Linked DNA regions of Homo sapiens: all the other regions are linked to region 3. Evidence: promoter capture Hi-C in human tissues and cell types (Jung and others, 2019). All regions are on one chromosome and are shown on one strand. The core of a region is centred on a gene start or on the middle of the fragment in contact, and the rest is flanking DNA. Distances in the headings are between cores, read along the strand shown. Region 1 overlaps CYBRD1 (cytochrome b reductase 1). Region 2 overlaps CYBRD1 (cytochrome b reductase 1). Region 3 holds the start of DLX1 (distal-less homeobox 1).

Region 1 (4,045 bases), core at 1,172-3,671, 540 kb after region 3:
GGGTCTTGCTGTGTCACCCAGGCTGGAGTTCAGTGGTGGGATCTCAGCTCACTGCAGCCTTGACCTCCCAGGCTTAAGCAATCCTCCTATCTCAGCCTTCTGAGTAGCTGGGACCACAGGTGTGCACCACCAGAGCTGGCTTATTTTTATATCTTTTGTACAGACGGGGTTTTGCCATGTTTCCCAGGCTGGTCTGGAACTCCTGAGCTCAAGCAATCCTCCCACCTAGGCATCCCAAAGTGCTGGAATTATGGGTATGAGCCACTGTGCCTGGCCCCAAAAGTCAAAGATTTTTCTCTCTACTTCTCTACTTCTTATGGCTTCTATACACTTCTACATACTTCAGTACTTCTACACACTTGAATTCTGTACTGCACTGGCTAGGATACAGAGGATAAGATACTCTATAGGATGCAATTGGCTTTGTACATAAATAGTAGGAGCAGAGATGATTCAATAAATGGTGATGGGAAGATAGTTTACCCATCTGGAAAAAAATGAAGTTGAATCACATCACCTCACACATTAAAATTAATTCCAGATGAAGTAAGTACTTAAATATCAAAGACAAAACTATTTTTCATATTGTTGGGGTTTTTTTGGTTTGTTTTTTCTGTGTACTAGAGTAGAAAAGTAAAAGACAAAATTTTAATGCTCTTAGTAGAAAGCATAAGATGATATTTTGACCTCAGGGTAGAGAAGAATTTCATAAACAAGTCACCAAAAGAAAACAAAACAAAGAATGATAGTCTCAGAGGAAAAGATGATTAATTTGGTTACATTAAAATTGACAATTTCTGTTTATCAAAAGATGTTAACAACAGAGAAAATGCAAGCTTCAAACTAGGAGAAGATATAGCAATATATATAAATGAAAAAGAATTCGATATAGAATTCCTATAAATCTTTAAGAAAAAGAGAAACATTTTTTAAATAGACAAAAGACACAAACAGGTGTGTCTTAGAAGATAAAACACAAGTGAAATGAACATTAAAACTACAAGAATACATCATTAAGTACCAACTAGTTTAGCAAGGATTTAAAGTTTAAAGAGGGTGCAAGCTGGTAAGGATATGGGAACTCATAAACTTCTGGCAGGAATATAATCTGGGTCAATCACTTGGGAAAACAATTTAGCATTATCTTTTTAGGTTGAGCTTGTAATTTCACTACTATGTATATGCCCAGAGAAACCTTTAGATGTGAGGACCAGGAGATGTATATATGAATATTCAATGCAGCATAGTTTCTAACTGAAAATAGCAAGAGAACAGGTAAGTAAATTTGTGGCATATTTATACAGTGGAATACAAAAGTAAAAATGAATGAACTATAGCCAGAGGAATCAATACAGTTTAATCAGTAGAGTTAAAAAAAAGTTGCAATAGAATATATATGAGACCATTTTTTAAAAAAAGTTTCATTTAAAAAGCAAAATTAAACAATATATGATTTAATTAATCAATATTTAAACATCTTGTTTAATTAATCAATATTATTTAATTAAACATCTTGTTTAATCAATATATTGATTCACAGTATGTGATTAAAGTATTTTAAAAAGCAGAGAATGAGAATAAACACCGGGAGAATGGTAACCTCTAGGGGTTGGGGTAGGTAAGAACTTTATCTGGTTGAGGAGAAGAGATGAGGAGGAAGGAGAAGGAGAAGTCAGAGAGTTTCCAAGCCAGCGAGATGGACTGGATGTCCATTGCTGGTAGGGAGATGAAGGGAGCCGGGTACAAGGAAGAGAGGACTCCAAGGTTCAGGGCAGCCCCAGCTGATGGCCAGCAAGGGAACAGGGACCTCAGTCCTGCACATACAAGGACCTGGACTCTGCCATCAAGCTGAATTTGCTTTAAGCTGATTCTACCCTAGTCTCCCAATCAGAGCCCTGGAAGGCTGACACCTTGATACTGGCCTTGTTAGACCCAGAGCAGAGAAACCAGACAAGCCAATCTGGACTTCTGATGTACAGGTACTGTGAGGTCATAAATTTATGTTGTTTCAGGCCATTAAGTCTGTGGTAATTGGTTACCACAATAGAAAATGAATTATTTATGGATTTTTTTTTACCTTTATTGATTTACTTTTCCTGGTATATTTTGCTGTTCCCTTATAGTTACCTAAGTAAATAGCTTATGTATTTTAAGTTTTCTTTCCAAAAAATATAATAAAAGCATTTAAGCCTATATTCCTCTGGGAACCATTTTAATTAAACCCCAAAGATTTTTATTTATTTATTTTTTTGAGATCAGGGTCTGGCTCTGTTGCCCAGGCTGGAGTGCAATGGTATAATCTCAGCTTACTGTAACCTCTGCCTCCTGGTCTCAAGGGAGCTGTGCACCTCATCATCCCAAGTAGCCAGGACAACAGGTGTGCACCACCCTGCCCAGCTAATTTTTGTGTTTTTGTTTTAGAGATGAGGTTCCGCCATGTTGCCCAAGCTGATCTCAAACGTCTGGGCTTAAGCGATCCACTGGTCTCAGCTTTTCAAAGTGCTGGGATCACAGGAGTGAGCAGTGCACTATGCCCAGCCAGGACCCACAGATTTTTAAATAGGTATTCTCTTTATTGCTAATTGTTAGATCAGTCTCTCTCTTGATTTCTCTCTCTCTCGATCTCTCTCTCTGTCTTTCCTTTATTTGTAGAGACAGTCTCCCTATGTTGCCCAGTCTGGTCTTGAACTTCGGAGCTCAAATGATCCTCCCACCTCGGCCTTCGAAAATGCTGGAATTATAGGCATGAGCCAGCATGCCCAGCCTGATATTTCTTAATTTTACATATTAAGATATAGAGCAGAGTATAAGTTGGTTTTTAGAGAATCCAGATTAAAAGTCATATCCAGTATAAGAAATCTTTATTTCTTATTATTTTGTTCTGTGAATTCTGCAATTCTGGTGCTCTCTGAGGGGAAAATAGTTATAATAGAAACAAATGTAAAGAATGTTTAGAAAACATTTACAGTCACTGGGCGCGGTGGCTCACACCTGTAATCCTAGCACTTTGGGAGGCTGAGGCAGGCGGATCACCTGAGGTCAGGAGTTCAAGACTAGCCTGGCCAACATGGTGAAACCCCATCTCTACTAAAATACAAAAATTAGCCTGGCACGATGGTGGGTACCTGTAATCCCAGCTACTTGGGAGGCTGAAACAGGAGAATCACTTGAACCCTGGAGACAGTGGTTGCAGTGAGCCAAGATCGCAGCACTGCACTCCAGCCTGGGTGGCTAAGCGAGACTCTGTCTCAAAAAAAAAAAAAAAAAAAAAGAAAAGAAAACATTTACAGTCTCTGAATTGTTTTTATAACTTGCTTGTAAATACACTGAAATACTGACCTGTAACAAATAGCATATGACAGCTATCAGTCCAACCCAGCTGTGCAGACTGTACATATTGGCTATATTGTTAACATTGTGGTTCTCAAACACGGCCACCACAGAGATAATTGCAAGAATGGCAGCAACTGCATTTAACCCTGCATGGATGGATTTCATCAGGAGCTTGCTGCATTTCCAGGTCCACGGCAGTCTGTAGACGATGATGGCTAGGGAAAGACGAAAGGACACAGAATGTGTTTTGTTTTGTTTTTTAAACAACACAAAATGAACAGTTTGACACACTGGACACTCCCTTTTTGAAACCTTTTTCCCTTGGCTTTTGCTTCTCCCCTCTTCCCCATGTTACCCCTGCCTCTCAGTGGCTCCCTCTAGGGGACGGTGGAGGAGTTCCTTTGCTGGCATTTTCTTCACTCCCAACTTGTGAATGAACCTTGGTGCCTCTCAGGCTCGGTCCTAGGGCTTTTTCTCCCTCTGCACTCCCTCTTGTGGGTGATCTCATTCACTCTTTCACTGAAATGCTGTCTCCATGGCAGGGACTCCAAAAAATTTATATCTCCAGCCCAGAACTGTCTTCTAAGCTTCAGATCTGCATAATCCAATGTCTTCTTGGTATTTCCGTACGGCGTTTGCTTCCCAGACATCTCAAACTTATCCAAAACCAAATTCCTAATCTTAACAATCTGATTTATGCCTGTTGTCTCCT
Region 2 (3,662 bases), core at 95-2,594, 530 kb after region 3:
TCACTCCAGGAACTAGCGCTCAGCTGGCAGAACTAATAGCCCTCACTTGGGCACCAGAATTAGAAGAAGGAAAAAGGGTAAAAAGGAAAAAGGGTAAATATATATACAGACTCTAAGTATGCTTACCTAGTCCTCCATGCCCACACAGCAATATGGAGAGAAAGGGAATTCCTAACTTCCGAGGGAACACCTATCAAACATCAGGAAGCCATTAGGAGATTATTATTAGCTGTACAGAAACCTAAAGAGGTGGCAGTCTTACACTGTCGGGGTCATCGGAAGGGAACTGCCAAGTGGATATTGAAGCCAAAAGAGCCACAAGGTGGGACCCTCCATTAGAAATGCTTGTAGAAGGACCCCTAGTGTGGGGTAATCCCCTCTGTACTCAGCAGGAGAAATAGAATGGGGAACCTCACGGGGACATAGTTTCCTCCCCTCAGGATGGCTAGCCACCAAAGAAGGGAAAATACTTTTGCCTGCAGCTAACCAATGGAAATTACTTAAAACCCTTCACCAAACCTTTCACTTAGCCATTGATAGCACCCATCAGATGGCCAAATCATTATTTATGGGACCAGGCCTTTTCAAAACTATCAAGCAGATAGTCAGGGCCTGTGAAGTGTGCCAAAGAAATAATCTCCTGCACTGCAGGCCATACATTTCAATCCCTGTATCTTTAACCTCCTTGTTAAGTTTGTCTCTTCCAGAATCGAAGCTGTAAAACTACAAATCGTTCTTCAAATGGAGCCCCAGAAGCAGTCCATGACTAAGATCTACCGTGGACCCCTGGACCGGCCTGCTAGCCCATGCTCTGATGTTAATGACATCGAAGGCACGCCTCCCGAGGAAATCTCAATTGCACGACCCCTACTACGTCCCAATTCAGCAGGAAGCAGTTAGAGCGGTCTTTGGCCAACCTCCCCAACAGCACTTGGGTTTTCCTGTTGAGAGGTGGTACTAAGAGATAGGACTAGCTGGATTTCCTAGGCTGACTAAGAATCCCTAAGCCTAGCTGGGAAGGTGACTGCATCCACCTTTAAGCACGGGGCTTGCAACTTAGCTCACACCAGACCAGTCAGGTAGTAAAGAGAGCTCACTAAAATGCTAATTAGGCTAAAACAGGAGGTAAAGAAATAGCCAATCATCTATCACGTGAGAGCACAGGGGAAGGGACAATGATTGGGACATAAACCCAGGCATTCGAGCCGGCAACGGCAACCCCCTTTGGGTCCCCTCCCATTTTATGGAAGCTCTGTTTTCACTCTATTAAATCTTGCAACTGAAAAAAAAAAAAAGATGGGCTAGAGGCAGGAACCAAGTTCTTTGAATGCTGTGAGGAGAAACATTCCACCCAGACTGAGGCGTGGTGGGAGCAGGGGCAAAGGAGATGAAGCAGGAGCTGAAAAGCTCTAAAATCTGAGTTTTAGAGGAGATGCTGAATTCAGCAAGGTGTAGAAAGTTGGGTAGGATATTTGAGTATGTTTTACCAGATCCTCATGACCTTATTGTAGCTATTACAGGGCAGAAATTTGTCTTAAACCTAGCAGAGAACCACTACGTAGAATAATTTGCTATTCCATAAATATTCCTTTCTGTTGACTCCCAAATTTTTTTTTATTTTTTTATTTTTATTTTTATTTTTTGAGACAGAGTCTTGCTCTGTCACTTAGGCTGGAGTGCAGTAGCATGATCATGGCTCACTGCAGCCTTGACTTCCTGGACTTAAGTGATCCTCCCACCCTAGCCTCCTGAGTAGCTGGAACTACAGGCACATGCCACCACACCTAGATAACTTCTTAATTTTGTTTTTTTAGAGATGCGGTTTCACTTTGTTGCCCAGGCTGGTCTTAAACTCCTGGGCTTAAGTGATCTTCACACCTCAGCCTCCCAAAGTGCTAGGATTACAGGCATGAGACATTGCACCCGGCCAACTCCAAATTTTTAGACAGAGCTCTATTCCTTTAACCAATTGCATATTAAAGAGTCTCTGAATCCACCTATAAACTAAGCTTCTGTTTCAAGTTATCCCACCTTTTTGGGGCAAACCACTGCATACCTTCCATGCATTGATTTATGCCTTTCCCTATAACTCCTGCTTCCCTAAAATATCTAAAAGCAAACTGTAATTCCGACTGCTGGGGCACACTTTCTCAGGACCTCTTGAGACTGTGTTCCCCAGGTCATTGACACTTGTATTGGCTCAGAATAAACCTCTTTAAAATATTTTACAGGCTACTCTCTGCCTAGGGGGTAGCACTGCTCTACAGGAGCAGTCATGGTGCTGTAACACTGCCTCTTCAGTAAAGCTGTTTTCTTCCACCTCTGGCTTGCTCTTGAATTCTTTCCTGGGCAAAGCCAAAAACCTACATGGGCTAAGCTCCACGTTGGGGCTCCCCTGACCTGCATCAGTTTCTCTAATCTCTTACTGCTCAGGAGTCAAGTGGCCAGAGGTCACAAAATTTGTGACTTCCCCAGTTGCTCCTATAGATAACATCACTATTGTAGAACCTAAGATTGGTCAGGTAGTGAAGAGCTGACCCCATCTGGACTTGTGACTCATGACTTAATTGGTCCTGTGGCCCTCCTCCAGAGGGGGACTCAGTGCATGAGGATTGTTTTCTACACACCTATGATTGCATTCCCAACCAATCAGCAGCATCCATTCCCTTGCCCCTGCCCACCAAACTATCATTGAAAAACCCTAACCTCTGAGCCCTCAGGAAGACTGATTTGAGTGATAACTCCAGTCCTTCTGCTTGGCTGCTTTGCATTAATTAAACTCTTTACTGCGAAAAATTTTATATATATAAAATATTAAATATTATATATAAATATATAATAATAGTAAATATTATATATAAATATATAATATTAATAGTAAATATTATATATAAATATATGATATTAATAGTAAATATTATATATAAATATATGATATTTATAGTAAATATTATATATAAATATATGATATTTATAGTAAATATTATATATAAATATATAATATTAATAGTAAATATTATAAAATATGTATTATACATTACAGAGTCTGGCTTTTCAGTTAACATAATCAAGAAACTGAAAAAAGACTATCTCTGCTGAAAAATAAACAAACCAAAAACCATGGCAAAGAAACTTTCACAACAATGCCTACCCCTGCTACCCCAGACAAATTGATAACACACAAAGAGCTTCCAAAATAACTTTTATTACTATATAAAAGAAGTCAAGAAAAAATAGATGCATATTTTTCCTACAAAATTATAAAATATTCAGGATAGTTAATATTTTTTCCATAAATGCGCTAAGATAAAAAGATAGAAATCTTTTTCACTTAAGGTTTTCGAGTACCTTGTAGGAATTAAAGAACAATAATGTTCTTTCTTCTACATTTTCCTAAAGACATAGCAGTTACAGTTTCCTGCTGGAGTTATCTAAAAAAGGACATACCAAGATAAATTTTCTATCATATTGAAATAAAATTAGCATAAAGCTTTACTTCTGTCTTTGTGCTTTTAGATTGGCAACTGTGGTCAATCAGTGCTGCACTGGAATTTCCAACTCAGCAGGGGAAAGAATCTAATTAAAAATGACACACACTCTGTATTTTGTCCTTTAGAAAACAGAAACTGCTTGTCGATATCCCTTAAAAAGTGCAATTGCCT
Region 3 (3,571 bases), core at 880-3,379:
AACATCAATAAAAAGAATCGAAAACCTAGGAAGGAGTGGAGGAAATTTATTTGCAACGCGACCCAACTTTTCTATGCGCCATCTTTTCTGCCCTTGAGTTGGGACGGACTAAGGAGGCCTCAAGGTTTTGCTGAACTTCTCTTTGGATTCAAAACCATTCTTGCACTAGTGTCTGTTTGCTTTCTCCAGCTCTGCTCCAAATCCCGGACCGGACGTCGGAAACCCGCGCCCGCCGCCGTCAGGAACGCTCACGGGCTCCCCGGAGTCTTACAGAAAGCCGGGAAGGAAGGTCCCGTTTCTTCTCTAAGGTCTGGGACTTGAGAGGTGAGAGGGCGGAGGAAAGGATCTCCCCCCACCCCCAACCGGTAAGAAGGAGGAGGAGGAGGGAGGCTGAGGCGCGGACCCAGGCCCCGAGTGATTAGTCACACAATTTAAAGGCAAAGGAGGGATTAAGCCCGGAGTCTATTGTTCCAGTTGTTTAGGCACGTGTGACCTCTGAGTTCCCAAACAAATCGTCTGGGGAAATCCTTCCTGCGCCCTAATCAGATTGTCCAGGGACAGAGGGCCGGACGGCAGGCAGCTCGGGATACCGAGAGCAGTGACAGAGCTAGGGCAGAGGGAATGAGGGAGGAAGGAGACACGCTGAGAGCCAGGGGTGGACACAAACACATACACACAGTGACACCCCGACCCTGAGTCCCAGCGAGCAACAAATGAAGACCCGGGCGCAGGCCGGCCGCGGAAAGCCTGCGTGGCAGAACGGAGCGGCAGCGGCGAGGTACCTGAGTCTGTGTGAGTCCCAAAGAGGCCGCGAGCTCCGCCCTCTCCGGCAGAGCTAGGTACTGAGTTTGCTGGAACCTCCGGTTCAAAGCCTGCAACTGCAAACTGGAATAAATCGTCCTGGGTTTACGGATCTTTTTTCCCTTGCCATTGAAGCGCACTTCACCGCCTTCCACCACCGTGCTCTTCTCCGAGTCCGCCCCTGGAGGGACAGCAGAAGTAGGGCCCGTTGTTAATACGAGGGGCCGCCTTTAGTGCGAACAGCCGAGAGCGAGTGGCTACCGAAGGGTGGCGGAGGCAGCACCAGGGAGAGAACGTTCAAGAAACTCTGAAAGCCAGGGAAGGGTCCCCCAAAATCCGAGGGCCTGTCCCGGGACGCTGCAGGAGGGATAGAGCCGTTCCCAGGAGCTCAGCTCCTGCCTTTGCAGGGAAAGTTTGCTATTTTTGCAGGCGGTAGTTGAGGTTTAATTACCCTTAATTGCATACATTGTTTATAGCGCTACGCAATAAATAATTACCGAGACTAATACGTGCACATGTGGGTTTCTGTTTTCCAGCGGGGCATTGTGTGCTCTGCACACCGAGCCGCCCAGAGGCCCAGCCAGTGCCAGGAGACGCTCTGGGATTTATCCTTGGCTGGATAGTTGCAAATTGAGGGAATTTTTAAAAAAATTTATTTGCTGTGACAAGGATCTATAGATTGATATTCGAAACCTCCACTGCTCCCGCGCCCTCCCCACCCCCACCCCACCTCGCTCTCCTCTCTTCTCTTTCTCTCTCTCTCCCTCTCCTCTTCTCCCCCGCTCCTTCTTTCCCTCTCTCCCTTGTACCTCCTCCTCTCCCTCTCCCTGGCAAGCGCACGTACCTGGGTCCTCCAGGCGGCTCTGGGCGAGGCTGGCGCTGCCCGGGTAGGACTGCACCGAACTGATGTAGGGGCTGGATGCGTGGCTGCTGACCGAGTTGACGTAGGGGTAGCCCAGCGGTCGGGAGAAGGACGAGGCTGAGCTGTAGGCGCCGTCGGGCTGCGAATGGCCCGCCGAGTGTAAACAGTGCATGGAGTAGTGCCCGTGGGACATGGGAGAAGGAGACATTTGCTGGTTGGGCGGCCCAAACTCCATAAACACCGCCTTGCCCGACACGGGGCTGTTGAGACTTTCTGGCATGGTGGTCATGGTCATCTCTTCTCGCGGGGTCTGGGTGTGGGACTTTCTCTCCTCTGCTTCCCTTTTGGGGGTCTCTATGTTTCTCAGGACAGGAAGGAACCCAATTTAAGCGGAACAGGGGTTTTCACTTTCCATTCATAAGAAAATGGAGTTTGTCTCTTTGAAAAGTCTAAGCATGATGCTGCTGAGCTCCCCAAACTCGGTTCAAAGCTTTGACTCAGCGAAGGTCATAAATATTCATGAGCTGGCGGAGCTGATTGGTCCGCTGTCTTGCATAATCACTGGGGATTGGTCCGAGGCGCTCGGGCTCCGCTGGACTAGAGCGGGCGAGGCGGCCCGGCCTCGGGTAAGACGCATCCACACTTCCCGGCCGGGGCTCCTCTGCAACAGAGCGCGCCGGGCAGGAAGCACAATGGGCTGCGGCGTCTGCGCCGGGGCCCCTGCGGCCCGCGGCTCATCGGCCTCCCGCCTCCCTCGCGCGCTTTCCTCCCCAGGAACCAACCAGCGGCTCCGCGCCGCCGCCCCCCTACCACTGTCCCCACCCTTCAGCGGTCCCTAACACCGGACACCCGGGACCGCTTCTCGTCGCTGCCACTCAGTTCGGCGCAGAGCTAGGGCGGCTCAGGAGGAGACTGACCTCTGCCTCTGGAGCGCGGAGTCGCGCACTGGGGGCGCCCGAGGCGGCCAACAGACAGAGGTTCTCCTAAGAGCCTTGTGCCTAGCGCAGCGCCTATCCGGCCGCGCCTCCCCGGTACGCTCTGCCGCATCCCTGGAGTCGGGGCTTAGGGGCCCTCCCTGCGAACTCACTCACTCGGCCGCTGCGCCAACGCCGCTGTCGCTCCCTGGGGCCCGCTCGCATTGCTCCAGGCCCAGCTGGCCACTCCAGCTCGAGGCTGCACGGGTCTGATTAAAGCAGTGCGCGTGGAGAGCCAGGAACCCGCGCTTCTCCTCCCAGGAAAGGCGGCTGCACCGCCCCCTCCCCCAACACACACATCCTCTTTCCCTCCCAGCCTTCCTCCTCCTCCCCCTCCCTTCTCCACTCCCCATGCGCGGAGAGCCCCGGGCTCACTCGCCCCGAGAGCGCGGCTCAGCGTGGAGCCCAGGGGGCCTAGGGGCTCAGATCTGCTGGAGCCACCGACGCCAGGTGGTCATTTTCCGGCCTCCTGAGGTCTAGCGCGACTTCCAGAGTTTAGGAGTCCCTGGGGGACACCGAAACCCGCAGCAAACCCAGGCCTGTGGTAGGCTCCCTTATCTATGTGTAGACGTCTCTCGTTGCCACCCAGGATCTTCCTCACCTCCAGTGGCCAAAGCGCGCGCCACCAGGCCTAGGGGGCAGGGCTAGTGGAGGCAAGATCTGCCGCTGCTCCTTCTGTCTTCTGGGGTGCTAGGTACAAAAAAGTGCACAAGAGCCCCCACCCCATCGCCACTACTACCAATACAGCCAGTCCCTCGCGGTGTGGCGTACACCACCCTGGCTGTAAGTGGATGTTGGTTCCCCATCCCGCCAGCCCCACGGTGAATCCCAAATTACTTTGTTAGGTAATTAGAAAGTGTTGATAATTATTTCTTTCATAATTTAGCGGTGTGACGGGAACGGGGAAATGATCTTGTGAAAGTTCACACGTGCA

What was found. Contacts are between HindIII fragments. The study calls those that stand out against the background at their distance.
Region 1: a fragment that was not itself captured here is called in contact with the fragment with the promoter of DLX1 in region 3 in 1 of the 25 tissues and cell types used here (spleen).
Region 2: a contact is called between a fragment that was not itself captured here and the fragment with the promoter of DLX1 in region 3, in 1 of the 25 tissues and cell types used here (lymphoblastoid cells).

The regions. Positions count from the first base shown.
Region 1 is chr2:171,541,088-171,545,132 of GRCh38, reverse strand. It overlaps CYBRD1 (cytochrome b reductase 1), which reads right to left. Exons shown (of 4, transcript NM_024843.4): 2 at 3,340-3,548. Among named protein-coding and RNA genes, the nearest start is that of CYBRD1, 21 kb to the right of the region's middle. The HindIII fragment of the contact is 5,525 bases long and covers 1-4,045 here.
Region 2 is chr2:171,557,657-171,561,318 of GRCh38, reverse strand. CYBRD1 (cytochrome b reductase 1) reads right to left here. Exons shown (of 4, transcript NM_024843.4): 4 at 3,190-3,662. Among named protein-coding and RNA genes, the nearest start is that of CYBRD1, 37 kb to the right of the region's middle. The HindIII fragment of the contact is 4,703 bases long and covers 1-3,662 here.
Region 3 is chr2:172,084,065-172,087,635 of GRCh38, reverse strand. It overlaps DLX1 (distal-less homeobox 1), which reads right to left and starts at 2,129. Exons shown (of 3, transcript NM_178120.5): 1 at 1,646-2,129; 2 at 783-982. The coding sequence starts at 1,958. RefSeq lists enhancers at 1,258-1,869, 1,901-2,020, 1,870-2,483, 2,484-3,095, 3,096-3,571 and 1 more and a silencer at 2,301-2,410. The HindIII fragment of the contact is 6,806 bases long and covers 182-3,571 here.